Linked DNA regions of Homo sapiens: all the other regions are linked to region 3. The links are contacts of gene promoters, found by promoter capture Hi-C in human tissues and cell types (Jung and others, 2019). All regions are on one chromosome and are shown on one strand. The core of a region is centred on a gene start or on the middle of the fragment in contact, and the rest is flanking DNA. Distances in the headings are between cores, read along the strand shown.

Evidence for each region. The method cuts DNA at HindIII sites, captures the fragments that hold promoters and counts their contacts. A contact is called where the count stands out against the background at its distance.
Region 1: a contact is called between a fragment that was not itself captured here and the fragment with the promoter of COL3A1 in region 3, in 2 of the 25 tissues and cell types used here (aorta and mesenchymal stem cells).
Region 2: a fragment that was not itself captured here is called in contact with the fragment with the promoter of COL3A1 in region 3 in 1 of the 25 tissues and cell types used here (psoas muscle).
Region 4: a fragment that was not itself captured here is called in contact with the fragment with the promoter of COL3A1 in region 3 in 1 of the 25 tissues and cell types used here (mesenchymal stem cells).
Region 5: a contact is called between a fragment that was not itself captured here and the fragment with the promoter of COL3A1 in region 3, in 1 of the 25 tissues and cell types used here (aorta).
Region 6: a contact is called between a fragment that was not itself captured here and the fragment with the promoter of COL3A1 in region 3, in 1 of the 25 tissues and cell types used here (aorta).
Region 7: a contact is called between a fragment that was not itself captured here and the fragment with the promoter of COL3A1 in region 3, in 2 of the 25 tissues and cell types used here (aorta and mesenchymal stem cells).

What each region holds. Positions count from the first base shown.
Region 1 is chr2:188,549,486-188,553,162 of GRCh38, forward strand. All of the region lies in intron 7 of GULP1 (GULP PTB domain containing engulfment adaptor 1), which reads left to right. Among named protein-coding and RNA genes, the nearest start is that of DIRC1, 240 kb to the right of the region's middle. The HindIII fragment of the contact is 7,041 bases long and covers 1-3,677 here.
Region 2 is chr2:188,612,308-188,615,732 of GRCh38, forward strand. No RefSeq gene overlaps it. Among named protein-coding and RNA genes, the nearest start is that of DIRC1, 180 kb to the right of the region's middle. The HindIII fragment of the contact is 3,960 bases long and covers 1-3,425 here.
Region 3 is chr2:188,972,754-188,976,179 of GRCh38, forward strand. COL3A1 (collagen type III alpha 1 chain) reads left to right here and starts at 1,620. Exons shown (of 51, transcript NM_000090.4): 1 at 1,620-1,815. The coding sequence starts at 1,737. All of the region lies in intron 1 of LOC105373791 (a long non-coding RNA gene), which reads right to left. The HindIII fragment of the contact is 6,513 bases long and covers 1-3,426 here.
Region 4 is chr2:188,629,435-188,633,312 of GRCh38, forward strand. No RefSeq gene overlaps it. Among named protein-coding and RNA genes, the nearest start is that of DIRC1, 160 kb to the right of the region's middle. The HindIII fragment of the contact is 4,693 bases long and covers 1-3,683 here.
Region 5 is chr2:188,647,296-188,650,728 of GRCh38, forward strand. No RefSeq gene overlaps it. Among named protein-coding and RNA genes, the nearest start is that of DIRC1, 140 kb to the right of the region's middle. The HindIII fragment of the contact is 4,565 bases long and covers 1-3,433 here.
Region 6 is chr2:188,565,536-188,569,044 of GRCh38, forward strand. All of the region lies in intron 7 of GULP1 (GULP PTB domain containing engulfment adaptor 1), which reads left to right. Among named protein-coding and RNA genes, the nearest start is that of DIRC1, 220 kb to the right of the region's middle. The HindIII fragment of the contact is 4,888 bases long and covers 1-3,509 here.
Region 7 is chr2:189,356,424-189,360,123 of GRCh38, forward strand. It overlaps a transcript of COL5A2 not described here. Among named protein-coding and RNA genes, the nearest start is that of WDR75, 83 kb to the right of the region's middle. The HindIII fragment of the contact is 4,125 bases long and covers 149-3,700 here.

The DNA of each region.
Region 1 (3,677 bases), core at 107-2,606, 420 kb before region 3:
TCACCAAATGCTGGTAAGAATGGGGAAAAAGTACATCATTCACACATAGCTGATGGAGATATAAAATGGTATGGCCATTCAGGAAAAACAGTTTGGCAGTTTTATAAGAAACTGAACATGCAGCTGTCCTATGAAATACTTGGACATTTATCCCAGAGAAATCAAAACTTAAAATGTTCACACAAAAACCTATACACAAATATTTATAGAAGCTTATTCATAATAGCCGAAAACTACAATCCATCCAGAAAATGTGTGAAGGGACATTACTTAGCAATAAAAAGGCATGAACTATTAGACACACAACAATGTGGATGACTCTCCAGAGATTAAGGAATGCAAAAAGTCTATCTCAAAAGCCTGTGTACTCTATGATTCCATTTCTATAACATTCTTAAAATAGCAAAATTAAGGAAATGGAGAACAATTAGTGATTGCCAGAGGTTAAGGAGATGGTGAGGGCAGGCTAGAAGAGGATGTGCTTATAAAACAGCAAGATGAAGGACTCTTGTCGTAATCAAATTATTCTGTATTCTGACTATATTATGAATATCCTGATTGCAATTGGTACTATAGTTTTGCAATATATTATCATTAGAATAACCTGGACAAAGGATACACAAGATCTCTCTGTATTATTTCTCACAGCTGAGTGTAAATCTAAATTATCTGAAAATAAAGTTTACTTTAAATATCTGAAAAATAAAGTATGGCCTATTTGGACCAAACCTTTTGTCTTATTTTAAGTAAATGCAGGCCAAAAAGAATTAGTTTCTTTCCTAGAGTGACAAGCTAGATAGAAACAGAATTTGAACTTAGAGGAAGGCTTACCTTAGCATACTACAAAACTAGAACAGAGAATTTATTGTGATATGGTTGATTTTTATTATAAATTAAATATAATTGCTGTCAACTGTTTAACCATTATTTTGATTTTCTTTATTTTTCACAATTTCATTTCCAAATGTTAATAAATATACCTTATTTGCTGAATGCTGCTTTTAATATAATTTAAAGAGTAGCCCCAATAAACAAATGAAATTATCACACACACATTTTTTAATGATGTGAAAGGAACTGTAAAATAAGGCAAAGTTTAAAACTTCATTTTTACATCTTAATTAATTCTCCGTAAAAAGGGTTCATTGTCAAAAGAATCATACATTATTAGTACTAGAAGGAATCACTGCATCCAGTCGTTTTACAAGGTCTGTCTGTGAGAAGGTGTTTACTGCATATTCTTATTATAGCCATATTTCACGTTTGCTTTGTGTTAATAATTTTTGAATCACATTTATCAAAATAAAAAATTAATGTTTTTTTTATTTCATTACATGATTGAGGGAGAGCTAATTTCTTAGATTAGCCATCCAACTTAATGTAATTAGTTTAAAATTAGAATCTGGAAGCTTATTGTTGCTGAGTATTTCCTGCCAATACCAATTTTCATGTCTCCATTTCATGAAATACTATAATTTACATATCAAGTCCCTGAGTTTAAAAACTCTGAAGAATTGGCTTATTATGACAACAAGCAGGAGTGACCAGCTGTAAACTAGAAAACTAATTTTTTAGTTAATTTGTCTGAGGTTCTTTTGTATGTGATTTTTTAAGACAAACTTTCTTTTATTTGAACAAATTTATGGAGTAGATGTGAAACATTGTTACATGGATATAATATGTAGTGATCAAGTCAAGGCATTTAGGGAGGGCATCACCTGAGTACAATACATTTATATTAACTATAGTCACCTTACTCTACTATCAAACATTGAATTTATTCCTTCTCTCTAACTGTATGTTTGTACCCATTAACCCACTTCTCTTCATCCTCCTTTCCCCATTTATTCTTCTCAGGCTCTGTTATCCATCTTTCTACTCTCTACCTCCATGTGATGAAATACTTTGCTTTCACATGTAAATAAGAGCATGCAATATTTGTCTTTTTGTGCCTTATTTATTTCACTTAAGATAATGACCTCCAGTTCCATCCATGTTGCTGCAAATGATATGATATCATTACTTTTATGGCCAAATAATATTTCATTATGCATATATACACCACATTTTCTTCATCCATTTATCCATTGGCGGACATTTAGGTTGATTCCATATGTTTGCTATTGTGAATAGTGCTGAAATAAACATCTCAGTGCAGGAATCCCTTTGATATATTGATTTCTTTTCATTTGGATGGATACCCAGTAGTGGAGCTGCTAGATCAAATGATAAGTATATTTGCAGGTTTTTTTTTGAAATCTTCATACTGTTTTCCGTAGTAGCTTTAGTAGTTTACATTTCCACCAATAGTGCATAAAAGTTCCTTTTTCTCCACATCCTCGCCAACCTCTGTTATCTTTTGTCTTTTTGACAATAGCCATTCTGACTGGGTTAAGATGATAACATTGTGGTTTTGGTTTGCATTCTGTGATGATTATAATATTGAGCATGTTTTAATATACTTGCTGGCTGAATGTGTGTCTTCCTCCGGGAAATGTCTATTCATGTTCTTTCCCATTTTTTTTTAAATGGGAACATTTTTTTTTTCTAAGTTGTTTGAGTTCCTTGTATATTCTGGAAGTTAGTCCTCTGTCAGATGAATAATCCGAAAATATTTTCTCCAATTCAAAAGTTGTTTCTTCATTCTGTTGATTATTTATTTTTCTGTGTAGATGCTTTTTAGTGTAATTAAGTACCATTTGTCCATTTTTGTTTGTGTTGCCAGTACTTTTGAGATCTTAGTCATAAATTCTCTGCCTAGCCCAATGTTCAGTAGTTTTCCTTAGATTTTCTTTTAATATTTTTACAGTTCCAGATATTACATTTAAGTTTTTAGGCCACTTTGAGTTGATTTTTATATATGGTGATAGGGGTCCAGTTTCATTCTATTCAATTCAATTTTCCCAGCACCATTAATTGAAGAGGATGTTCTTTCTCCAGTGTAACTTCTTTTTGGCTTTGTCAAACCTCAGTTGACTGTAAATAAGTGGTTTTATTTCTGAGTTCTTTATTCTATTCCATTATTCTGTGTGTCTGTTTTTATACCAATACCATACTGCTTTGGTTACTGTTACCTTGTATATTTTGAAGTCGGGTAATGTGATGCCTCCAGCTTGGCTCTTTTTGCTCAGAATTGCTTTAAGTTTGCCGTTTCTTATTCTGTGATGAATGATGTCAGTATTTTGATAGGCATTGCATTGAATCTACAGGTTGCTTTGGATGGTAGTCATTTAAATGATATTATTTCTTATGATCCATGAATATAGGATATTTTTCTATTTGTTTGTGTCATTGACTATTTCTTTTATCAGTCAATAAATAGTTCTCTCCTTATAGAGAACTTTTACCTCCTTGGTTAAATTTATTCATATATATATATATTTATTCCTATATATGTATATACATATATGTGTTTATCTCTCTCTATATATATACGTATATATATGCATGTGTATACTTATTGCGCTATTGTAAATGAGATTGCCTTCTTGCTTTCCTTCTCAGCTACATCATTGGTATACAGAAATGCTCCTGATTTTTGTACATTAATTTTGAATCCTCCATCTTACTAAATTCATTTATCAAATCTAAGAGTTTTTTTATGGAGCAATTAGGTTTTTCTAGATATAAGATCATATCAGCAAAGAGGGATAATTTGACTTCCTGTTTTCCAATTT
Region 2 (3,425 bases), core at 317-2,816, 360 kb before region 3:
TCCTCGATTTCTCTTGATTGAGTAAAACTATATTGATAGCTATAGATTCGGCAGTACTTTTTCTGGCTGACCATAGACCATATTTGTAGACTGAGCAAGACTCTTTTTGGTTAACCATTTACATTGACCATAGGGATGCCATGTTTTGTTGATCATTTCCATAGCTTTTACCTGTCAAGAACATCTGCCTAAGAGGCCAACTTTGTTGCTCTTTATGATAATGCAGTGCTTTACATTTGATGGCTAACTGCCTCTACTTGACCTCTGTTTGGAGGTCCTATTATTTTCATTGTTATCTGTAATACCATATTTTCTATCACTTTAGTAAATGGGGTATCCTCTCGGTGATTCTAAGGAACATAGCTGTTGAATTTTGGGGGCTTACATGCTTTATCTGCTTTAGTAGCACTTCTCTGATCCTTGTATCTTCTTTCACTGTCTATTACAAATGTTCTTTGATTGTATATTTTCCTGGAAAAGGCCATCACTTTCTTGAAGCTTCTAAAAACTATCTCATTGGCATGGTGAAATTGTCTAAGTAACAAAATATATGGACCACAGAAGAGCAATCCCATATCAATAAATTCTTCCTTCTAAAACCTACAATTTCTTTCTTTTTTATAATTTTTAATTGATACATAATAATTGTACTTATGCAGTAGAGGATATTTCGATAAATGTATACAATGGGTAATAATCAAATCAGGTAATTAGCATATGTGTCATCTAAAAAAATTTGTCATTTCTTTGTGTTGGGAACATTCAAAATTCCTCTAGCTTTTGAAAATATATGATATATTATTAATTATAGTTATACTACAGTGTCATAGAACACTAGAACTTACTCCTGTCTAGCTGTAATTTTGTATTCATTAACTACTACCAGTCCCAGTCTCTAGTAACCACTACTCTGTTCTCTAATTCTATGAGATCAATTTTTTAAACATCCACATATAAGTGAAAACATGTGGTATTTATCTTTCTGTGCCTGTCTGAATTCATTTAATATAATGTCCTCCTGGCTTATCCATGTTGCCCAAATGACAAGATTTCATTCTTTTTTGTGGATTAATTTTATTCCATTGTGTATATATACTGTACTTTATTCATTCATCTTCTGATAGACACTTAGTTTGATTTCATATCTTGGCTATTGTGAATAATGCTGCAATGAACATGGGAGTGCAGATATCTATTTGATTTCTATTCCTTTGGATACATACCTAGCAGTAAGATTGCTGGATCATATGGTAGTTGTGTTTTTAGTTTTTTTTGAGCAACCTCCATACAGTTTTCCATAGTGACTGTACTAATTGACATTTGCACTAGCAGTGTATAACAGTTCCCTTTTCTCTGCATTTGTTGTGTTTTGTCCTTTTGATAATTACCATTCTAACTGGAGTGAGATGATATCTCATTGTGTTGGTTTTGATTTGTATTTCCGTGATGTTAAGCATTTTAAAATATACTATTTGGCCATTTGTATGATTCTTTTGAGGAATGTCTATGCAGATCAATTGGCCAATTGTTATTTGGATTGTTGATTCATTCTGTTGATTGTTTCCTTTGCTGTGTGGAAGCTTTTTACTTAGATATAATCCCATGTATCCATTTTCACTTTTGTTGCCTGTGCTTTCAGTAACTTATTTATAAAAATATTTGCCCAGACCAATGTTATTGAGTTTTTCTTCTAAGTTTTCTGCTAATACTTTCACAGTTTCTCATCTTATATTTAATTTTCTTTAACCTATTTTGTGTTTACGGTTATTTGTGGTGAGAGATAATGGTCTAATTTCATTCTTCCAAATATAGACATTCAGCTTTCCCGGCACCATTTATTGAAGAAACTGTCATTTCCCCAATAAAATGTTCTTGATAGCTTTGTTAAAATCACTTAGCTGAATATATGTAGATTTATATATGGTTTTCTATCTGAACTCAGAGTGGAACAGAATTAATATTCTGTTCTATTGACCAATGTGTCTGCTTTTATACCAGTACCATGCTATTTTGATTACTATAGATTTGGTATATTTTGAAGTCAGGCAGTTGATTTCTCTTTGTTCTTTTTGCTCAGCATCACTTTGACTATTTGAGATCTTCTGGAGTTCTACACAAATTTAATTTTTTCTCTATTTTTGTGAATAATGGCATTGGTGTTTTGATAGGAATTGCATTGAATCTGTAGATTGCTTTAAGTTTTATAGCCATTTTAGCAATATTACTTCTTCCATTCCATGGACATAAGATGTGTTTCCGTTTTTTTAGCGTCCTCTTCAATTATTTTAATCAGTATTTTTTAGTTTTTATTGTACAGGTGTTTTGAACTCCTTGATTAAATTTATGCCTTGATATTTTAATTTTTCTAGCTTTTATAAATGGTGATGGCTTTCTTAATTTTTTCTTCAGATAGTTCATTATTGGTATATTGAAAAAACTACTAATTTTTGCATATTGATTTTGTATCCTGCAATTTTAGTGAATTTATCCATCAGTTTTAAGATTTTTTTTGTGTGTGAAGTCTTTAGGTTTTTTCCTGTATAAGATCACATTATCTCAAACAGAAACATTTTTGCTTCCTATTTTCCAATTTAGGAAAATTTCTAAATTGGAATTTCACTGGCTAGTACTTTCTGTATTATATTCAATAAGAGTGATGAAAGTGGACATCTATGTCTTGTTCCAGTTTTTACAGGCAAAGATTTCAATTTTTCCCCATCCATATGATATTAGTTATAGGTTTTCTGCATATGGCCTTTACTATTTTTAGGTATGTTCCTTTTATGCCTAATTTGTGAGAGTTTTTACCATGAAGGGATATTGAATTTTATCAAATACTTTTTCTGTGTTTATTGAGATGGTGATATAACTTTTGTCCTTCATTCTGTTGATGCAATGTATCATATTTATTGATTTGTGTATATTTGACCACCCTTGCATTCCGGCATGAATCCTACTTGATCATGGTGTCTAATCATTTTCATGTGCTGATTAGATTTGTTTTTCTAATATTTTTGTTGTTTTTTTCTAGTATGTTTTTTTAAATTATTTTTTTCCTGGAATCCTTTCTTGAAGTTTCCTAGTATTTTGTTGAGGATTTTTGTATCTATATTCATCAGGGATATTGCCCTGTAGTTTTTTATTCTTTTGTGTCCTTGTCTAATATCAACATTAAAGTAATACTGGCCTTATAAAAATAAGTTTGGACAAATTTCCTCCCCTTCAATTTTTTGTAATATTTTGAAAGGAATTAGTGTTAGTTCTTCTCTAAATGTCTGGTGGCATTTGTTCAGAAATTTATCTATTTTATCTAGGTTTCCCAATTTGTTGGCATACAGTTGTTTATGATAGTGTCTACCTATCTTTTGTATATCTGCACTATCAATTATAATTTCTCTTTTTTCATCTCTGATTTTATTTATTTG
Region 3 (3,426 bases), core at 370-2,869:
GGTGAAACCCCGTCTCTACTAAAAATACAAAAAATTAACCAGGCGTAGTGGCGGGCGCCTGTAGTCCCAGCTACTCGGGAGGCTGAGGCAGGAGAATGGCGTGAACCCGGGAGGCGGAGCTTGCCGTGAGCCGAGATTGCGCCACTGCAGTCTAGCCTGGGCGAGAGAGGGCGACCCCGTCGCAAAAAAAAAAAAAAAAAAGATGCAAGAAACAAGAAAGCAAGTTTGCCACTGTCCATGCTTACAGGATTCATGTACACCTGGGAATATACATATGACATGAGTTGAGTGAAAATTTAGTAACACAAATTAGAAGAAAGAGAAAGATGAAAATTAGTTTAAAGGAGGTAATTTACTTAAGGAGGAAAGTTTTGCATTGAGGCATAAGGAAGTGACTTCCATTAATTGGTGTGAAATGGGGAGAATTTTATGTGCACAGGCATAGAGACGGACATGTTTAGGTGAAGGTGAAGAAAATTAGTTCAAGTGACCTTGATTAGAATTGAAATGTCCACCGTAGATTATAGAGATAGATGAACTAACTATGAACTGATGATTAGGGTGTAAAGAGATATCTCCATTGCCAGATATAGCCTTATACTGTGGACAAGCATATTTTTCCTGCAGAGATTTATCAAAGACCTATAAATGGTATTTGCCCCTCTTTCAAATATGACACAAAAATTACTGCTTAGATAGATCCAGAAATACATTGGAAAGTTTTGTGGATGAGGATCTGGAAAGTATACACATAAAAGTCTAAATTAGAAATATTTATACTAATCTTTAGAGTAATGCAGAAAAAATGACCACTTTCTCTGGTACTCTTTTGCTATTCTATGTGATAAACTCTTTCTCTTCCAGTTTCCTAAAAAGTTATGTCATGAAAAGGCTGAATTTTTCTCTAGAAAAATCTGCTCTGTCTTTCCCAGGCAGCATAAAAATTGGAAATCTCACAAGAAAGCACTCTGGCTTGCTAAAGAAATTTGTGAGAAATGGAAACAGCTATAGATAAGTATCTAACTTTTAGGAAGCCATTCAAACATTGCTGAAATACTTTGTCTTTTGATATTTGCCTGAAACTTAACTTCTAGGACCCAGGGTGGGTGGATGAGTCGAAGGGGCATACGGTGGCATTTCTTTCCGTGAGTCTCTTACAGTCTCCTATTTAAATTGAGTTAGGATTACTTCTGGCAAAATCCCAACATAAAAATCTTCTAGGAAGATCAGTTCTGTAAATTAGACATACTAGATAAATGGGCATCAAGCAGTTTTTCAAAATTATGCAGTTGTTAACTTCATAAGGGGAAATAAAAATGTATGCATTTACATTGTATGTATTAAAACAAGGCAGAGCATTTCTATACGTTCCTAAGTTATACAAACATATATGTAAGAGTGAAATATGTAAAAAAACTTTTACATAAGCAGATGCATACAAACTCCAGATGTGCTCTTTTTCTTACTGTGGGTTGTGTCTTCTATAAGGGAAAAAGAAATATTTATCATTTCTTTTACTGCTGAGGGGATGGGTGCGGCTCTCATATTTCAGAAAGGGGCTGGAAAGTGAGGGAAGCCAAACTTTTTCCTATTTAAGGCCAAAGCAAAGGAATCTCAGTGGCTGAGTTTTATGACGGGCCCGGTGCTGAAGGGCAGGGAACAACTTGATGGTGCTACTTTGAACTGCTTTTCTTTTCTCCTTTTTGCACAAAGAGTCTCATGTCTGATATTTAGACATGATGAGCTTTGTGCAAAAGGGGAGCTGGCTACTTCTCGCTCTGCTTCATCCCACTATTATTTTGGCACAACAGGAAGGTGAGTAGGTACTGATTTCAAGAAACTTTATGGGATTTTTGTCTTTCTTCTCCTCACAAAGAGGGGTGTAAAGGGGAAAATCAGTTGCCTGATTCAAGATAATTTCCTCTATAAGCTCCAGATTGTGAAACGTTGAACTGACCATGGCTGTGCTTTTTACATTACTTGAAAAATAATCGCGTTATGTGTGTTTTTAAGAGTTCTGTGGTTAAGATAAGATGTTCTTGTACTAACTTGTTTTCATGTTAAAGGCACTGGAAACTTTTAAAAATGGCTTTAAAATTTTTCCCTCCTGGATTGTTAACATCTTGGAATACTTCCCCAGGCAGTCTGGAAGTTATTGGTCTCTTGCAATAATTTTATGTTCCTCTTTGTCTGCTGGATTCTTTGTAAGGTTAGAATATTGAGCATTGTTTTCTGAATAAGAATGCCTTTCAAATATCATGGATTAAGAACAGTCTAAAGGAAGATTCTACGCATTATCAGAATCATTGAATATATTTCTGTAAAATGGCTACAAGATACCTATAAACATTCTTCAAAGGGATCAAACTGCTAAAATATTTTATTATTCCTGTTTTTATTTTGTTTCAAGAATGATTGATTAATTCATCTTTTCTAGTAGCTTGATATTAAGGGACTAATATTTTCCACATATTCTACGTTTTAACCACATTCGCATTAATGAAGAAAATATTTTTTAAAATGTTTCAACAGGAGGTTTGACTTTGCTGCAAACAAGGTAAAGATACTAGTACTGTTTGACTTCAGAAAGCTGTTTTGCTATATTTTCTAATAATTGCATGTAATGTTTTTCATATTCTAATTTCCCCTAAAAACACATTTGTCTCATTATTTATGTGAAAATATTCTTTTATTTACCATAGTCATGAAAATGCTGAACAAATTGGAATACAAACTTCCATAGAAATAAATATTTAAGTGCTAAATGTAAAGATAGCTAGGAGAAATTATTAGACAATTTTTATTGCACATAACTAAACATGGTTACATTTAAACATATAGATTTTGCAAAGGACACTGCATGAAAATTTGGTTTTTGTTTGTAATATCAAATGTATTTGTTGTCCTCATAGCTAATACATGTAAATGTGTGTATGAGGGGAGGGGTAGATATACAATGAAATGTCTTCAGTTATATTCAGCCCATGGACACAAAAGAAAAGAAACACCCATTTTCCTTGTTCCCTTAATTTCCTCTCCTCCTTACCCCTCCTCTCCTTCGCTTTGCCCTCCTCCTTATCTCTCTCCACCCCTTTTGGCTCCTTTAGACTTCTCTTCACTCATCACCCCACCCCTTCCTAGGCAAGCCCATATCTACTCCTCTCTCCTCCTCTGTCTTCCCTGCCTGTTACTCCCTCCCTACTCCCCATGTGGCCTCCTTATGCCTCCATTTCTTTTTTTTAGTTCTCTCTCTCCTTGCCTCCTCACCCTTTCTTTCCCCTGAACTCTCAATCCTTCTTCCTTTCTCATTCCTCTCCCCTTTTCCTCCCTATCCTGCTCTTCCCAGGAGATGCTACAACTCACAGTCCTTTTTTAGGATACCAAATGACTACTATCCCCCACCAACCATTTATTGAAAAGACTACA
Region 4 (3,878 bases), core at 87-2,586, 340 kb before region 3:
CAGTTGTTTCCCTTTTGTTTACAGATCAGTTATTCCATCCATGGCCTCAGGGATGTGAGTAATCCTGTAACAAAGAATTCTGGGAGTGGTTAAAAGTCATGGCTGGCCAACATTTCAATAAGCTTGAGGTGCCTTCAGCGAAGGGCAGGGCATAGACCAGTGGGCTTCTAAAAGGCCAGGCAGAAGAATCCAAGGGATCTGAGTCTTCATTCTCTGGAGCGACTGCTGATTACAAGCACATGGCACAGAATTGTGACGGGACCCCTGGGGACAGGTCTTGAATGAATCCCTTTTATACTTCTCTCCACAGTTTATGACATCTAGGTTTAGGAAAGCAGAGTGTAGATGGGAAATGTTAGAAAAAGCACAGGATGCTCTTTTTTTTTGGAGTGTTTTAGATACTTTACTTGAGAATGCTGCACTGTAAAAGCCAAGCCAGGCCAGTGAACTAGAAGATAAAATTTCCTCTTTCTTTGTTCATTGCATCTCATGCAGAAGTGCTGCTGTCTTGAAGTCTGGCATAGGCTCTGCTCTATATGGCCTTGCTCTGCTCAGAGGGCATTGGCTATAAATGGAAAGGGGTGTGGGAAGTTTAGAAAAAGCTCACTGGGTTGATATTTCTTTCACAATCCTTTGTTTAAGTCCTAGCCAAGAAAACCCCTGGAGGAAGGGCAGGGGACCTAAAGGTAATGGGCTCTGCAAAGAACCAAATGTGCAGTTATTCTTTTTGACTTGCTGTGGGCATTAGGGCTGTCAGCCAAACTCCTGGAGGCCTTGGAAGAGAAAGTAGTTCTAAAGCTCTGTTTCTCCTTAATCTGTCTCAACAAAAAAAAAAAGAAAGAAAAGAAAAAGCCTGACATTCAAATTGTAAAAACTTTTTCTCAGCTTCAACTGGGGGAGAGTAAAGAAGGTTAAAAGTCAGCATTCATTCCATTCTTGAATGTTAAGAACATCTTTACAATCCTGCTGAGAGCAAGCACAAATGGATCTTAAAGGTCACATATGTTAGCAGTCTGATGTTGACATAAAGGCAGCCAATTTTGATAGCTTTACAGATGGCTCCTGGTTGACATTCCTACCCAGATTCTCCATGAACTGTTCTAGACCTGAAAAGCCTATGACAGAATGGGAAGGGGACCGTGGAATGAGAAAGGAGGCATAAAGCTTTGTGCCTGCTCTAGGCTTCCAGGCCCCAGTTCTCCCATAGAACTTTCAGCAAAACCAGGGCAAGACCTTCCATAACAGTGCATTATACTACATTTAATTTCCATTATAGTGTTTCAATGTATACAATGCTATGTGTGTAAGTTTTAATCTATACACTAGGACAAGTACCCCAATCAAGAATATATAATTCAGGGTTAGATAGTTAGCATTTTAAATACCTGAATTAAGAATTCACACACCAGAGAAAGTTAACAGAGAGGAGCTTTAAATAATTCTACTTTAATCTGCCTTAGAGAGTTGATTATTTTTCATAAGGAATGGTAGAAGTCCTTGATGGCCTAGACAAAATAGGCAGCTCAGCTCTTGTATTAATGGAAGAAAGGACCTGGCTGGATAATATCCTAGGCTTGGAATTTGTACTGGTCTTGTGCAAGGCCACCTATAGATAATTCTGCCCTGACTCTGATTAGATTAACAGAATCCTGACACTAAGGTAGTATCGAATATGCCTCAGACGAGCTTTTCATGTAGGTCCTTCCTGGAATGCCTAAACCTCAGAACTCACCAGTTCATAGTGTTAGAGTGGGTAGCTAAGCAGACATGAGCAGGGCAGGAGATGGTACCCCCTCCCCAGGAATGTCAGGTGACCATCACGTGATGGTCAGCGGGTTGTTAAACTGTCTGTCTAAAACAATAATTGGTCGAAGCTGGCACTAGGGAAAGGCAAACTCTCAGTAGGTGGAAAACACCTGATGCTGGTTATCAGCGGCTTCCTAATAAGATCTCAGGAGTTGGGTGAGCAGCCTCAGCATGTACACTAAGAGGCAAAATGGCAGAGTTTAACTGGTATATGAACTTCCTTTAGGAACACTGGACTGGTAAGGGAAAAAATACCTCAAATGAGCATGTGCACAACTTCAGTAAACACATACACATTTCACACGTAGCGCCTCCTAAGTGCTGGCAGGCCACTGTGCGTGCATCCTGCCTGCCCCAAGGAAAACTCAAGGGAGGAGACACACAAACCCTGGAACCATTCCAATGTGTAAAAACTCCATGTCAAGGGTCTGACTGGGTACTTGGATCTCTCAAGTCATCTGCTTGACTCTCTTCCAAGTTTACTTTACTTCCTTTTGTTCCTACTCAAAAACTTGAAAAAAAATGTTCACTCCTGCTCTAAAACTTGCCTTGGTCTTTCCTTCTGTCTTGTGCCTCTCAGCTGAAATTTTTCCTCCAAGGAGGCAAGAATCATGTTTGCTACAGACCTGTTGGATTCACCACTGCTAATGATAGAACAGATTATATGACACTTTTGTGCCTGCTTACTACTAAATGTTATGTAAATATGCCAGAATTCGTTCTAAGTTTCATTTATTATATCTTATCATTTAATATGTATAAACCCAGGTTAGGGGTACAAATGGAGGCCCACATACCATAGCTTTAAAGGTTTAAAATTATAAATCAAGTTGGCAAACTTTAAATTATGTTTTTCCTTCTACCTTGACAACACTGAAACACTATTTATTAATGTCATCTGAGAAGAAGAATGTAATAAATTGACTAAGTTGCCTTTTCTCTTAGTGAAGTGTTTTTACTACTCAAATCCTCTTCACACTCATAAGTACTTTTAATCATGGATTGACAGCAGCAGAGCCCACAGATCTTCACAGGATTAAGATAGTACTGCTTTTTGATGTGAGAATTTTGGGTAAGAAAGAGGAGAAAGCATTTCTGTGAGACCTAAATGGCATCCTTGATATGTGAGTCTCTCTAAGGAGCAAGTTTCAGGAATGGTGCTTCTCTTGCATAGGTCTAGGAAGGTACTGCTTTGAAGTCACAGATATCTAACAAAAATAAAAATAAAAAAACCTTCAAGTTGTGAAGAGCTGAATTAGCTGAAATCAATTATAAACATTTATTGTGGCAGATACTGGAGATGCCCCAGTTATATCCCGTTGGTGTCCCCTCTTCCATGCATTCAGCTCTTAAAGCTCTTACTGTCTTACTGTCAGTGTCTACACTTTGAGGACATCTGGCACTTGCCCTTGCCTAGGGCAGACAAAAATTCTGGAATCGATGCCTTTGTAAGTGTTCTGAACTAGTGAATGAGAGTTGATGGATAAATATTTTAGCTTCCTTGTTCTTTGGGTGTGACGACTGTGAGCTTAGTCTATAATATATTTCAAAGAAGAATACATATATAAACAATAAAAACTGCAAGGTAAAATCAGAAAACTATCAATAAAAAATAGACAATTACCACCAAACTGCCCATACAACATAAGAAGTAAGTGGAACAAGAAATATGTTGAATTTCTATGAAGTTAATAATGTCTTTTAAAAAACTCAAACAAGGTAGAATGACGAGTTGAGATTAACAGTATTGAAAAGATGCCAGTTTCCTTCAATCAAATTCCTAATAGTTGTTTTTAATAGACTTGAAATTTTTTATTTTTAAATGTATCCGAAAGAAAATCCATAAACAGTTAAAAACTAGTGGAAAACACAGTTTGCCAGTGGGTAATGAAAGTAGCTTTTCCTTAGTGCATACTATAAAATGAATTTATAACTAAAATCATGTGGATTGGCATAGTCATAAACAAGTAGAATAGCCATAAGCATATATATTTATTTATAATAAAAATTACATTTAAAATCTATTGAGAAAGAAGTTTTTACGGAAGGCTCTAAGTCCAAGATTCCTACAC
Region 5 (3,433 bases), core at 639-3,138, 330 kb before region 3:
ATTAAGAATAAAAGAAGAGCTAATTTTGTATGAATAATAAATATACCAATACACAGTATTATTTCCGCCATCATTTTGTTTGGAAACCCAGCATTACATGGTATATTTTTAATTTTTTACGATTGTATATAAGTGGAGGGGATCAATAATTATAAAAATGGTTTTGACTACTTCATTTAAAAGTCACGTATAAAAAGTAGAAAATATATATATTATATTTCCTGCTGTGCAATCTTAGGGAATTGTGGTATAATCTGTAAGGTTTTGATTTTGCAGCTGTGTTCATTAAGATAACTTTGGACTAAGTCTCGGAAAAAAATTATTGTTGCCAGGAAATCCATCACTAAAGTTTTTAAGTTTCACTAAATTTTCCAGTATTGGATTTCTCAAACAGTCAGATCAAATCTTTTCATTATAGCACATACTTAAAAAGAAAAAAAAAAAAAAACCCTTGACAAAGTATGAAGCTTATTACTTCACACTTGAGGCGTCTCATCCATCTTCAAACTGCTTGCCATGATCCATCAGCTATAATCACCAATTAGATTAATCTTGTTTAAGCTTTGGTTCATTATGTTTTTGTTCACCATTTCTTGCCCTGAAACACTGGATGACCCTGCACCTTCTACTAAATTAAGGTCAAATTCCTTAATCTGGTGATCACAGTCTTCTAAACTATGAATAACCACTCTGTAGCTTTATTATGTATTTCCATGGAATTGGGAGTCTCTATCCCAGCTGTCCTAAGCTTCTTACACTTTCCCTAAACACACATTAGGCTTTTCTTCTTTTAATGACTCTACAGCTTGTGATTAACACACTTCTCTACCATCTTAGTCTATCAGACGTATTTATTTCAAGGCTCATCTTACATGTCTAGAGTAAACATAAATTTAGATTTTCAAGAGAGTCTATTCTATATATGTTTTAATGGGAGTCATAATTAATAAGATTCCTTTAACCCTCAAGAGTATTTCATCAAGTGGTCGTGAATTCAGTCATCCTGATGATCTCAAATACTTTAGTAGCAAGAAAATCTATTGTGGTATAAAGCCTTACCCATAATGGAAAGACAACAATTGTTTGAAAACAAGTAAAGCAGGGGAGGATAGTGTAGAGGAAGTAATAATACAAGAGGGGTGCCAACAAATATGAGATTAACCTTGGTAAAGAAAGACTATACCGGAAATGACTCTTTGTTTATGGCAGAAAAGAAAAATAAGTTAGCAAATTAAAAAATAGTATATGCAAAGCTGCTTATTAAAAGCTTGTATAGTTCAAAATGATTGCTTACATTGTTATTTTTTTAATATATATTTTAATTTTTAGGGTACATGTGCACAACGTGCAGGTTTGTTACATATACATACATGTGCCATGTTGGTGTGCTGCACCCATTAACTCGTCATTTAACATTAGGTATATCTGCTAATGCTATCCCTCCCCCCTCCCCCCACCCCACAACAGGCCCCGGTGTGTGATGTTCCCCTTCCTGTGTCCATGTGTTCTCATTGTTCAGTTCCCACCTATGAGTGAGAACATGCGGGGTTTGATTTTTTGTCCTTGCGATAGTTTGCTGAGAATGATGGTTTCCAGCTTCATCCATGTCTCTACAAAGGACACGAACTCATCATTTCTTATGGCTGCATAGTATTACATGGTGTGTATGTGCCACATTTTCTTAATCCAGTCTATCATTGTTGGACATCTGGGTTGGTTCCAAGTCTTTGCTATTGTGAATAGTGAATAGTGCCGCAATAAACATACGTGTGCATGTGTCTTACAGCAGCATGATTTATAATCCTTTGGGTATATACCCAGTAATGAGATGGCTGGGTCAAATGGTATTTCTAGTTCTAGATCCCTGAGGAATTGCCACACTGACTTCCACAATGGTTGAACTAGTTTACAGTCCCACCAACAGTGTAAAAGTGTTCCTATTTCTCCACATTCTCTCCAGCACCTGTTGTTTCCTGACTTTTTAATGATCGCCATTCTAACTGGTGTGAGATGGTATCTCATTGTGGTTTTGATTTGCATTTCTCTGATGGCCAGGGATGATGAGCCTTTACAGTAACCAAAACAGCATGGTACTGGTACCAAAACAGATATATAGACCAATGGAACAGAACAGAGCCCTCAGAAATAATGCCACATATCTACAACTATCTGATCTTTGACAAACCTGACAAAAACAGGAAATGGGGAAAGGATTCCCTATTTAATAAATGGTACTGGGAAAACTGGCTAGCCATATGTGGAAAGCTGAAACTGGATCCCTTCCTTACACCTTATACTAAAATTAATTCAAGATGGATTAAAGATTTAAATGTTAGACCTAAAACCATAAAAACCCTAGAAGAAAACCTAGGCAATACCATTCAGGACATAGGCATGGGCAAGGACTTCATGTCTAAAACACCAAAAGCAATGGCAACAAAAGCCACAATTGACAAATGGGATCTAATTAAACTAAAGAGCTTCTGCACAGCAAAAGAAACTACCATCAGATTGAACAGGCAACCTACAGAATGGGAGAAAATTTTTGCAGTCTACTCATCTGACAAAGGGCTAATATCCAGAATCTACAATGAACTCCAACAAATTTACAAGAAAAAAACAACCCCATCAACAAGTGGGTGAAGGACATGAACAGACACTTCTCAAAAGAAGACATTTATGGAGCCAAAAGATACATTTTTATTTAATGATACCATGCTTTTAATGTTCACTTAATGTAGTTATAAATGACAAATTGACAATGTTATTTTTTTAAAAATGTGAAATACGAAAAGAAAATGATGGTAGAAATGGATAATACAGAGTAGTAATTTGGAGAATAGACTCTGAAAGCAGACTGTCTAGGTCAGAGTCCTGCCTTTTCTTCTTAATAGCTATATCATTTTGCCAAGTTTTCTAACCTCAGTTTCTTCATTGTCTTGGTTTCCTCATTGTGAAATGGAGGTGACATATCGGTGCCTACCTAATAGAATAATTATGAGATCTCACTTAGTATAATGCTTGGGAATCAGTGAGCCATGTATTAGTAATTGTCAATAAAATAATTATATTTAAGTTGAAGAACAGATTTGAATGGAAAAGGTACTAAACACATTCTATTACTTCTTGCTAATCTGACTGATAAAAAGATATTGTGCCAGCTATGCTTTTTCCATATGATGAGATTCATATACATAAAGCACTGTTTATGTAGGTAGCTTGTTTAGGTATTTAGGTAGCTATTTAAGTACCTTAATTTAAGTTGGTCATAGCACTTATGAGGAAAAAAAATAGCAAGGAGAAATTTGTGATTACTGCCATTGGTTGAACAACTAATTTTTTTAGACAAAACATATCTTCAATCCGCCATCATTCTTAAATTGTAACTATACATAAAGGTTATGTTCTGTATGTGCTTCTTTCCACATTTTAT
Region 6 (3,509 bases), core at 400-2,899, 410 kb before region 3:
ATATCTTGTTTCTGAGAATGTGACATAATGAGAACTCTCTTAACTGCTGGTGGAAATGCAAAATTATATTATTACTTTGGAAAACAGTTGCACAGTTTCTTATAATGTTAAACCTCCCATGATTTAACAGTTACATTCTAGATATTTACCAAGAGACAAGAAAACATATGTCTACAAAAAGATCTTAGAAGAATGTTTGTGGTAGTTTCATGTCTAATAACTAAGAACTGACAAAACCATGAATGTCCATCCATAGTACAATGGATAAATCACTTGTGGTATATTTGTAACATGAAATGCTAATCAGCAACAAAACCAATGTGTTATTGATAAGTACAACACGTATGAAACTCAGAAACTTTAATTTAGTAGAAGAATACAGACACAAAATAATACATATTAGTCTATTTTTATAGATATCAAGGACAGGCAAAACTGATTTATAATGATAAAAATTGAAGAATCGTCACCCATAATAGATGAGATTTGACTGAAAGTAGGCATAAGAGACATTCTGGTGGGCTAGAAATATTCTTTATTTTTAATAAGTTGGAGATTATATATCTTATATGATTCATAAATTTATCATGATCTGTGCATTTCATTGTATATAAATTTTACCCCCCACCTCCAAAAATGTGATGGTTGGAGAGTCAGAAATCTGGATTTAAATTCAGTTTCTCCATTCACTAGCTTTAGGCAAGTTATACAACTTTACAAAATTGCAGTTTCATCATATGTATTGTGGGGTAATAATAATCCTTACTTCAGAGCCATGATGAGAATCAAGTAAGATAATATATGCAGAATATTTACTAGACAGCTAAGTGCCTAGTAAAGATGTTATTATAAAATGAGAACATGGTTTTTTAAAGTTATTAATATAAATAAATAATATGAGGCCAAATGTCATTAATGAATAATTAATAATGTTACCATTTAAATGATTCTTTATAATGTACAAATTGAGTATTTAAAGATAACATAATGTCTCGTTAAAAGGATACATCGACACTTTGGGAGGCCAAGGCGGGTGGATCACCTGTGGTCAGGAGTTCAAGACCAGCCTGGCTAACGTGGTGAAACCCAGTCTCTATAAAAATAAAAAAAATTAGCTGGGTGTGGTGGTGCGTGCCTGTAGTCCCAGCTACTCAGGAAGCTGAGACAGGAGAATCTCTTGAACTCGGGAGTGGAGGTTGCAGTGAGCTGAGATTGCGCCACTGCACTCCAGCCTGGGTAGCTGAGTGAGACTCCATCTCAAAAAAAAAAAAAAAAAAAAAAAAAAGGGGAAGGATACATCGAAATCATAATTTAGAAGGGAAGCAACCTATAATTAAAAATCCAACCATCTGACAAAGGTCTAATATCCAGAATTTGCAAGGAACTTAAACTTATTTATAAGAAAAAAACAACCCCATCACAAAGCGGGCAAAGGATATGAAGAGACACTTCTCAAAAGAAGACATTTATGCAGCCAAGAAGCATATGAAAAAAAAACTCAACATCACTGATCATCAGAGAAATGCAAATCAAAACCACAATGAGGTACCATCTCACACCAGTCAGAAGGGTGATTATTAAAAAGTCAGGAAAAAATAGATGCTGGCAAGGCTGTGGAGAAATATAAATGTTTTTACACTGTTGGTGGGGATGTAAATTAGTTCAGTTATTGTGGAAGACAGTGTGGCGATTCCTCAAGGATCTAGAACTAGAACTACCATTTGACCCAGAGATCTCATTACTGGGTATATACCCAAAGGAATACAAATCATGCTACTATAAAGACAAATGCACGCGTATGTTTATTGCAGCACTATTTCCAATAGCAAAGACTTGGAACCAACCCAAATGCCCATCAATGATAGATTGGATAAAGAAAAGGTGGTACATATATCCCATATCCCATGGAATACTCTGCAGCCATAAAAAGGAATGAGATAATGTCCTTTGCAGGGACATGGATGAAGCTGGAAGCTATCATCCTTAGCAAACTAACACAGGAACAGAAAACCAAACACCACATGTTCTCACCCAGAAGTGGGAGTTGAACAATGAGAACACATGGACACAGAGAGGGGAACAACACACACCAGGACCCATTAGGGGGTGGGAGGCGAGGGGAGGGAACTTAGAGGATGGGTCAATAGGTGCAGCAAACCACCATGGCACACGTATACTGTATAACTAACCTGCACATTCTGCACATGTATCCCATTTTGTTTTGGAAGAAATTTTTAAAAAGAAGAAGAAAAACGTCTTTTTATTGTAAAATAAACAGAAACCTATTACCCAAAGTTTTGAAATGAGAAACAGAAAACAAATTATTCATAATCCCACAATCTATCAAAACCACTTCTTTAATATTACAAATAATCTTAATATCTAACACAACCAATTAGTTTAAGTCAATGAACATGCATACATTGGTATCTGTCATTTTCATTTATTTGGTAGTTTTTATTATAGCTCGTTGTTTACTTTCTTGTCTTTTTTCTTTTCTTTTGTAAAACAGTCTTCCTTTAAAATATTATGTACATATTTTGCATTTTTTAGTTAACTAGGTTAAATACTATATTTTTGTCTAAAACCCTCCTTAAATAATGAACTATAAAAATTCTATTAAATGATATAAGATGATTAACAAAGCATGTTTTCATTTTATGTTGATCACAGTAGATAATAAATTATTAGAATTTGTAGTAGAGTTAAAGCATAGCATTTTCAATATATATTACTACTAGTCTTCTTGTTATCTGGAGGTCTTACTAAATATGACATAATTGTGACAACATTAAATCTTATTGATGCCTTTACCAAAATTCTTTATAATGTTGATTAAGTAAATAAATCTTTAGTCTTTACTATGTGCAAGACATTATGAATTCAGTGGAGATATGAATGGAGAAGAAATGAGCTTGTGGATGTAAGATATATTTGTGGCAGTTTCAAATCAATAGATCTGAGATTGTAAGTTGTTTACAAGCCCAAATTCAGATGACATATATATTTTGATCACTGGCACTGTGTTTTACCAAAATACAAACTGTTTACCATCGCTTAAAATTGGGAGCTCTCATATAAAATTTCAGACTTCTGGCCTCATCTTTCATACATAAGATCTGACAGTTTCAGATTGGAATTGCTCACTTCCACCAGGCAACAATTAACTGGGACAGAGTAGCAGGTGTTCCATTTAGAGGGCATACCTCAAGTTTTCCAGAGACACCACCTGGCCAGCCTCATTCAAGTTACCTGCTTAGGGTTTAACAAACCCTCCTCACAAGGAAAAGGAAATAAATAGCAAAGCAAGGAGAGAAACTACATTTGGCACTCTGCTTTCATTTCATAGGCACTAAATATTTGAGAAAGGGAGAAAAACAAGTAGGAAAAAACAATACAATAAAAGAGATGAGAAGTTTGACATAAAGAACTCTTGCTTCCAACTTTCCCACTTCAACAGCTATTCAGTAATACCCACCCCCAAGTCCGCTTGTTTTTTCAATGTTGTG
Region 7 (3,700 bases), core at 961-3,460, 380 kb after region 3:
TGTTTGTTTCTCTTTATTCTTTTTTCTCTAATCTTGTCTTCTCGCTTTATTTCATTGAGTTGATCTTCAATCTCTGATATCCTTTCTTCCACTTGATCGATTCGGCTATCGATACTTGTGCATGCTTCATGAAGTTCTCATACTGTTTTTCAGCTCCATCAGGTCATGTATGCTCTTCTCTAAACTGATTATTCTAGTTAGCAATTCATCTAACCTTTTTTCAAAGTTCTTAGCTTCCTTGCATTGGGTTAGAACATGCTCCTTTAACTCGGAGGAGTTTGTTATTACCCACCTTCTGAAGCCTACTTCTGTCAATTCATCAAACTCATTCTCCATTCAGTTTTGTTCCCTTGCTGGCGAGGAGTTGTGATCCTTTGGAGGAGAAGAGGCATTCTGGTTTTCGGAATTTTCAGCCTTTTTGCACTGGTTTCTCTCCATCTTCGTGGATTTATCTACCTTTGGTCTTTGATGTTGGTGACCTTCAGATGGGGCCTCTGAGTGGATGTCCTTTTTGTTGATGTTGATGCTATTCCTTTCTGTTTGTTAGTTTTCCTTCTTACATGCCCCTCTGCTGCAGGTCTGCTGGAGTGTGCTGGAGGTCCACTCCAGACCCTGTTTGCCTGGGTATCACCAGCAGAGGCTGCAGAACAGCAGAGATTGCTATCTGTTCCTTCCTCTGGAAGCTTTGTCCCAGAGGGCCATCGACCAGATGCCAGCCAGAGCTCTCCTGTAGGAGATGTCTGTCGGCCCCTACTGGGAGGTGTTTCCCAGTCAGGATACACAGAGGTCAGGGGCCCACTTGAGGAGCCACTCTGACCCTTATCAGAACTCGAATGCTGTGCTGGGAGATCCACTGCTTTCTTCAGAGCCGTCAGGCAGGGACGTTTAAGTCTGCTGAAGCTACACCCACAGATGCCCCTTCCCCCAGGTGCTCTGTCTCAGGGAGATGGGGGTTTTATCTATAAGTTCCTGACTGGGGCTACTGCCTTTTTTTCAGGAGGAATCTAGAGAGGCAGTCTGGCTGCAGCGGCCTTGCTGAGCTGTGGTGGGCTCCACCAAATTCAAACTTCCCAGTGGCTTTGTTTACACTGTGAGGGTAAAACCGCCTACTCAAGCCTCAGCAATGGTGGACACCCCTCCCCCTACCAAGCTCAAGTGTTCCAGGTCAACCACAGACTGCTGTGCTGGCAGCAAGAATTTCAAGCCAGTGGATCTTAGCTTGCTGGGCTCATGGGGGTGGGAACTGCTGAGCCAGACCACTTTGCTCCCTGGCTTCAGCCCCCTTTCCCAGGGAGTGAACGGTTCTGTCTCACTGGCATTCCAGGTGCCACTCGGGTATGAAAAAAAAAAAAAAAAACTCCTGCAGCTGCTCAGTGTCTGCCCAAAGGGCTCCCCAGTTTTGTGCTTGAAACCCAGGACCCTGGTGGCATAGGCACCAGAGGGAATCTCCTGGTCTGTGGGTTGTGAAGACTGTGGGGAAAAATGCAGTATCTGGGCCAGAGTGCACTGTTCCTCATGGCACAGCCCCTCACGGCTTCCCTTGGCTAGGGGAGGGAAAGCCCATGACCCCTTGCACCTCCCAGGTGAGGTGACACCCCACCCTGCTTCAGCTCACCCTCTGTGGGCTGCACCCACTGTCCAACCAGTCCCAATGAGATAAACCGGGTACCTCAGTTGGAAATTTAGAAATCACCCACCTTCTATGTCGATCTCGCTGGGAGCTGCAGACTGGAGCTGTTCCTGTTTGGCCATATGGTCAGCAGATCCAATTTACTGAATATTTTAAGCCCATTGTTGATACCTACTGCTCAGAAAAAAAAAAATCACTTCAAAATATTAGTGCTCATTTACAATGCTCCTAGTCAACTGAGAACTCTGATGGAGATGTAAAAAGAGATTACTGTTGTTTTCATGCCTGCTAACAAAACATTTATTTTGCAGCCCATGGATCAAGGAATAATTCTGATTTTCAAGTATTGATTTTAAGAAATACATTTCATAAGGCTATAGCTGCTGTATTTATGACATTTTCATGCTGTTTGGGTTGCTATAGCCTTGTAGGATATTTTGAAATTAAGTAGTGTGATGCCCCCAGCTTTGTTCTTTTTGCTCATAGTTGCTTTGGCTATTTGGAGTCTTCTGTGGTTCCATATAAATTTTAGGAATTTTTTTCTACTTCTGTGAAGAACATCTTAGGTGTTTTGACAAATATTACAATGAATCTGTAGATTGCTTTGGATAGTGTGAACATTTTAAAAATATTAAGTCTTCTAAGCCATAAGAAAGTGATACTTTCCATTTTATTGTGTGCGTCTTCTCTTCAATTTCTTTCATCAGTATTTTATAGTTTTGTATAAAGATCTTTCACTTCTTTGATTAAATTTATTCCTAGGTACTTTTTGTAGCTATTATAAAAGTGATTGCCTTCTTGATTTTTTTTTTCAGATTGTTTGCTATTGATGTGTAGAAGCACTACTAATATTTTTATGTTGGTTTTGTAACCTGCAATTTTGCTAAATTTGTCTATCAATTCTAACAGTGTTTTTGGTGGAGTGGTTAGGATTTCCTATATATAAGATCAAGTAGTGTGCAAACAGGGACTATTTAACTTCTCCTTTCCCAATTTGAATACCATTTTTTCTCTTTTTACTGATTGCTTTTGCTAGAAATTCTATTATTATGATGAGTAGAAGTGACAAGAGTGGACATCCTTGTCTTGTTCCTGATCTTGGAGAAAAAGCTTTCAATTTTTCACCATTGAGTATGATATTAGCTGTGGATCTGTCATACAAATATGGTCTTTATTTTGTTGAGGTATACTTCTTCTATATCTAATTTGCTGAGAGTTTTTATCATAAGCAGATGTTGAATTTTGTCAAATGCCTTTTCTGCATCTACTGAGATGATTGTTTGATTTTTGTCCTTCATTCCGTTAGTATGGTGTATCACATTTATTGATATGCACATTTGAATCACCCTTGCATCCCAAGGATAAATCTCCCTTGATCATAGTGAATAATCCTTTTAAATGCTGTTGAATTCAATTTGTTAGTATTTTGTTGATTTTCGCATTTCTGCTTCTCAGGGATACTGGCCTGTAGCTTTCGTTTTTGGTGCGTCCTTGTCTGGTTTTGATATCAGGGTAATGTTAGCTTCATAGAATGAGAATAGAAGTATTCCCGCCTCTTCAACTTTTTGGAATAGTTTGAGTAGAATTGGTGTTGGCTCTTATTTAAATCTTTTATAGATTCAGTAGTGAAGCCATCAGGTCCTGGGCTTTTCTTTGATGGGAGACTTTTTATTACTGTTTTAATCATGTTATACATTATTGGTCTAAACAGGATTTCTATTTTTTTCATGGTTCAATCTTGGTAGGTTCTATATGTCCAGGAATTTATCTATTTGTTAGTAGGTTTTACAATTTGTTGGCATATAGTTACCATAGTAGTCTCTAATAATCCCTTGTATTTCTGTGTTATCAGTTGTAACGTCTTCTTTTTGATCTCAGATTTTATGTGAGTCTTCTCTCTTTTTGCTTAGTCTAGCTAAAGATTTGTCAATTTTGTTTATCTTTTCAAAACACCAACTTTTGTTTCATTGATCTTTTTTAAGTCTCCATTTCATTTATTTTTGCTCTAATCTTTATTATTTATTTCCTTCTACTACTTTTATGTTTGGTTTGTTCTTACTTTTCTATTTG